2 separate regions of the Homo sapiens genome follow, and region 2 is linked to region 1. The links are contacts of gene promoters, found by promoter capture Hi-C in blood cells and fetal thymus (Javierre and others, 2016). All regions are on one chromosome and are shown on one strand. Each heading gives the region's core, a stretch centred on a gene start or on the middle of the fragment in contact. The rest is flanking DNA. Distances are from core to core; before and after follow the strand shown. Region 1 holds the start of ZNF507 (zinc finger protein 507). Region 2 has its middle 3.1 kb from the start of ZNF536-AS1.

Region 1 (2,700 bases), core at 94-2,593:
CTAATTGGCAAAGGATTCTGTGGAATAGCAGAATTCTAACTTTGCAGCCGGGCGCGGTGGCTCACGCCGGTAACCCCAGCACTTTGGGAGGCTGAGGCGGGCGGATCATGATGTCAAGAGATCGAGACCATCCTGGCCAACATGGTGAAACCCCGTCTCTACTAAAAATACAAAAAAATTAGCTGGGCATGGTGGCACGCCCTGTAGTGCCAGCTACTCGGGAGGCTGAGGCAGGAGAATCACTTGAACCTGGGAGGTGGAGGTTGCAGTGAGCCGAGATTGCGCCCCTGCACTCCAGCCTGGGGAGAGAGTGAGACTCTGACTCAAAAAAATAAAATAAAAATAAAAATAAAAATTCTAACTTTGCTGGTTTCCTAACCCCCAAATTCAGATGAATTTGAATTCTGAAATACAGTAACAGGAATTATCAGCCTGTCTGATTCTAAATTTTGTTGGATCTTCCTCCCAGGACCGTGGACAGCCCAGCCAGCTGTAAAGGCCTCTAAAAAGATCTGGAACAGATCCCCAAGAGGTATCTCACCAAATGAGTCCATTCCACTACAATGGCCAGAATCTTCAGTTTTACACCCTTGCTCATGCCCACCGCTCACCCGGAGTCCAGACCCAAGCACCATGCTGCGTAGTTCCTAATACGGCAAAACTATCCAGCATTTTTGGTGAAATTGGCTGGAATGCTTCACTTAGTCCGTTTTTCACTGTTAGCAGGAGAACCACCCTAGTATCTTTCATAGAACAGATCCGAATGACAAACACCATCGTGCCCTCGGAGGGCTGAGCTTGTGTTACTGGGTCTGGTCCTACAAACCCTGAAAATCCTGAATCTCTCAAGCAAAGAGATTCCCCAGGGCCAGCTCTGGCCCTTAACAGGCACCCCTTAACGCCAAGCTGCGAATCTGGCTAGGACCTCTATATTTTAGCCAAGAACACCTTGAAATGTACAGTCCTACCAAAGGAACTAATACAAATCCAGAAGCACAAGGCTAAAGAAAAAAAAAAAAAAAACCCCAATGCCCATTGTTGAAAGCCAATTGCGGGGTGAGTGGGGTGATAAGGCTAGCCCACAGCGGATTTAGGCGACGTGGGGAGATGCCAAAGTGAATACACGGTGACTTCTAAATCTAGACGTCTGGAAGGGGCCATGAGAGCCAGACAACTGGGCCCGAACCCCGCCCGGGAGCCAGGGTTTGCAAGGGGCTAAACCGGCTGGGGAGCCTCCCTCTCGCGGGTCCAGCCTCGGCGGCCCGGGACGCCGGTAGGCGGGGCCTGAGCCTCGCCCCGCCCCCGCTGCCCGCCATTCGGGTCACCTGACCCACCCGCGGCTCACGTGATCCGTCCCCAGCGCCGCCATTTTGGAGCTCCGGATGAGGAGGGGGAAACCGGGGGAAAAGAGGGAAAAGAGCCGGGAGAGAGGTGGGCAAGGACGAGGGCGAGGGCACGGCCGGGTCCTGGCTGGCCAAACGAGGCTCGCGGAAGCAGCAGCCGCCGCCTGACCGCAGGTACCGCGCCCCGGGGCCGCCCCTCCGCCCGCTGTTAGCGCCGCCGCCGGCCATGTGCATCCTCCCCTCAGGCCTCTGCCGGCGCTCGCTTCCTCCTCAGCCGGCCGACCCCCGCCCGGTGCTAGCCACAAGCCCCAAGTTCCGTGTCCCGGTTCTGTCTTCTGTGCAGCAAGGCCTGCGGAGACTCTGGGCTTGCCCTGCAGCTGGGGGTGGGGGGAACTTGCTGCTCCCTGCATACTGTCACCAGCCCGGCCCGCCCGCAGGCGTTGCTTCCTTCTCCAGGCGTTGCTTCTTTCTGCAAATGTGAGATCGCTTAGGCCAGCCGGGATGGACCCAGCCACGATGTTCTCACAGCATCTTTTGATTAATTTTCTAAGCTCCCTCATTCCCGACCCATCACCTCAGTCCTTTAGCCAGTGCGTGGTGTAGAAAAAGCTACTACAGAAACGCAGCCCTGGTCTTCTGCATTTATTACCATCCTCTGGAGATAGAATGATGTCTCCAGAGATCACGGAGACCATCAGGGAAAGTTCCCACCTCTTAAGACCTGGGGGCATCGGAATGAATGGTTTGTGTAGAAGGCCGGGATGATTAATAAGGTGGCGGCCACTTTCCCAACCCCAAGGCGGTATTTTTAAGTTTCTGCAGTGGGCTGTAATTTGCTATCAGTCTGCATCGCTCTTCTCAGGCAATTACTGGATTTATCACCTCTTTGAGTTTGCACTTTCTCCAGTACTCCCCTCTCACTCAGAGTATGGGTTGCATTATTGATTAAAAGAAAGCCTGGCCCTTCATTCCTTTACCTCACTAACTCGTTGAAAATTAACTTCAGGGGAGCCCTAAAGATGTTTTTTCTGCCCTGGCAGTGAGCTATTTTACTTAACCGTAATCGATAAGGTAGTTGCATTCTAGGTGAAACGAATAAGCATTTTTTTATCTTTTAGATTTATTCCAGCCAGTATAAGAAACAGTGGCAAAGAAATGTAGGACCAGAGTAGGAAACTGCGTTAGAAGATATATAGGTCACACCACTGTGTCATATCTTTTTATGCTGTTTTTCTGCCTATTGTGCTTGGTTGCAGAATCACTCGTTAGATTGTATTTTTAGTTTAGATTAAAATAGCAATGTGCAATTTATTGTTCCATTCTCATTAGAAAATGTTGTCAGTAAAACCAATAGTGT
Region 2 (2,700 bases), core at 138-2,637, 1.7 Mb before region 1:
CCCTGGGACCCGGCCCACTCAGCCAAGGCTATGTCACTCACTGGGGCCGTCCAGGCCTTCACTTGGGTCACCCGATTCCCATCTCAACGTTTCTTTTTCCTTGCTATAATATTTTATTCAAAACAAGATAGATTACTTGGCCAGAGAAACTGAACCCAGACAGACAGAAAATAGCTTCCCCTTTTATTCTGCAATTCAGAACTTCTTACAAATGATCTGCCAGTTGGGGTGCCCCATCCCCTGGAGGAGTCTGTGTGTGCAGAGGGGCCATAATTGTGCTGATGTTATAGAGACTTAAGTGACCACCCCAGGGCTGCCGTTGCTCAGGTGTGTTTCTGGCATTCCCAAGTTGGTACCCTTACATGCAATATTTTACATTAGAATGCATGCGTTTGAAATAGCGAATTGGTGAACATGTAAACCAGATGCTAAGAGGGCTTTGAGAGCTAGCCTGGGCACCCAATTACAAAAGGGGCATTATTTCCACAGCAAAGCATATTTCAGGGTCCATACAGCAAACAAGGTCAAATCTGAAAGATGGGGTCTGCAAACCTCCATCTTCTTTGTAGTGATGTTTTAATCCCATTCCTCTCCAATCCTAGCTCAAGAATCTGTTAGTAAGAGCATGGGGGAGAATGATGAGAAGCCTGGTTTAAAAAACAAACACATCAAATTCTCTGCTACCACTTATGAGTTCTGTGACTTTAGTCCTTTGCTTGGAATCTTCCAGAATCATACCCTAAGATAAGGATTTAGGCACAGGCAGTTTTTTGGGAGGAGGGAGAGAAGATCCCAGGAAGTACAAGGAGGGAGTGGGGGGAGCAGATGTAGGCGTGTTTTGAAGCAGGTGATCCCTGTGGGAAATGGAGTCTTATTCCTGCTGGGACCCTCCGAGGAACTATGTGGACAACCTCAAGAAAGCTGCGGTGTTTATAAGCCAGCCCCTATCCTGTCTTGGTTGAGTGTATTCCTGGGGTGTTCACCCTTTGGCCCTTTAATCCAATAAGAGCCCATGACTGGAGAACCCCCTTGGCCAGAAAGCCCCATATGCTTTGGCATATGTGGAAACAGCCTGCAGGAGATGGCCCAGGGGAATGGGTGAGGACTCCAGTGCCCCTGTCACATGAGAATCGAGCCTCTCCGAGCCTCCGTTTCCTCATCTGCACTGTCAGCTGTTCCAGCCCGCCTAGGACCCTTCCAGGGTGATCTGTATGATCTGTGTGACCTATGAGACATGAAATAGTGACAGATCTGAGCAGAAGCCAAGCACAGCGCCTGGCCCTTCAGGGGCACACATGACATCACTGTTGTTTCATCACTTTTCTGCTTGGTCTTCCTCTGCCTAGATTCCAATATGAATTTTTTCAGTTCATCTTCAAATCTCTGCTCTCCTCTCCCTGGGGGAAATCTTCATTGCTCCACGCTGGGGTCCTGAACCCACTGAAAACATTCTCTCTGTGTCTGAGAAGCTGACTCAGATTTTCCTTTTGTAGACGGGTCTCCCGCCCTGTGCCTGCCACGGGACTGGCACATACATCGCCCGCACAGCACCATGGCCCTGGCCACCCAGGCACATCTTAAATAAAAGCAATAGTAAAAGAGTCAAGCCAACCAGCCACAGCCACCCTTTTCTCCTCCTGTGGCTGAAGCCTGCAGTGCCCCTAAGCCTGCTATCTCGTCACCTCTTCCTGCCTCTGGGGCACACATCCCAACCTAACTCTCACATGCGTGCCCACCACCCCAAACCGTGCACGGACGCACGTCCCGATGTCAGGTTCCCCATGTTTATAGGTAAAATATTACTGGTGACCGACACACAGCCTTTTTCTCCTACGTTGTCATTTTATGTTAATTGAATGCTAGTGTTAATCTAATAGAGTTTAGATTTATGTTGGGTTCTGTAGCGAGTCATATTTTAATCAATACACATTCCAACATTTAGATGGACAGATGAGAAAAGCAGCTTCATCTCCGCACTTGGGTTCCATCAGCTGTCAATAATTCCCCATTTGAATCCTTCAGATGGTCAGATTTATGGGTTTGAGTATATTGCATTCATCACAGAAATTAACTTTTGGTGGAACTGATGTGAAAGCTCACATCACATCTCCAAGAGGCAGATATTGTGTTTCAGAGCTGAGGCACTCGGAAATATTATCTGAGAGGAGCAGGTTGGCGGGGTGACAGCAGGAGATGGGATAGGGGCCTGGGTGGAGAAGGCTTTCAGGGCACAGTGCTCCTTAAGGCACGTAGGCATCACTCTGTGTCCCGTAAGCAGAGCTAGGGCTGGTTCTGGGCATCCTGTGCCATGCACCCTGTGCCCAGGCTGCCCGGGGATGGAGAGGGAGTGGTTGCATAGAGTCAGGTGAAAGAGGATGCTGTTCCTGCCAGGTAAAAGACTGAAAGACTCTTCTCTTGTGGACCTTGGCTGGTCCTACTCTCAGGTTAATTTCTCAGGAAGCAGAGCCAGAGTTAAGAAATCAGGGCATCCAGGTTTACTTGACATGTGACTGATGGAGTATTGGGAAGGGAAGGAAACCAATGGAGTGTATGCCCTCAATCCAGGTGGGCAGTTGGAGTTTTGGGGAGCTCTGGGACCTGAAGAGCACTCCTCAGAGTGACCCCACCTGAGAGGTGAGGAAGCTGCCTTTGTCTGGTAAATTGCTGCCCATCGTGGGTGGAGGCCAGCTTGAGCTCTAA

What was found. The method cuts DNA at HindIII sites, captures the fragments that hold promoters and counts their contacts. A CHiCAGO score of 5 or more calls a contact.
Region 2: a fragment that was not itself captured here is called in contact with the fragment with the promoter of ZNF507 in region 1 in 1 of 17 cell types (endothelial precursors); the score reaches 6.1 in endothelial precursors.

Annotation. Positions count from the first base shown.
Region 1 is chr19:32,344,267-32,346,966 of GRCh38, forward strand. ZNF507 (zinc finger protein 507) reads left to right here and starts at 1,344. Exons shown (of 7, transcript NM_001136156.2): 1 at 1,344-1,517. RefSeq lists silencers at 1,168-1,297, 1,328-1,517. The HindIII fragment of the contact is 10,893 bases long and covers 1-2,700 here.
Region 2 is chr19:30,671,993-30,674,692 of GRCh38, forward strand. It overlaps a transcript of ZNF536 not described here. Among named protein-coding and RNA genes, the nearest start is that of ZNF536-AS1, 3.1 kb to the left of the region's middle. The HindIII fragment of the contact is 7,406 bases long and covers 1-2,700 here.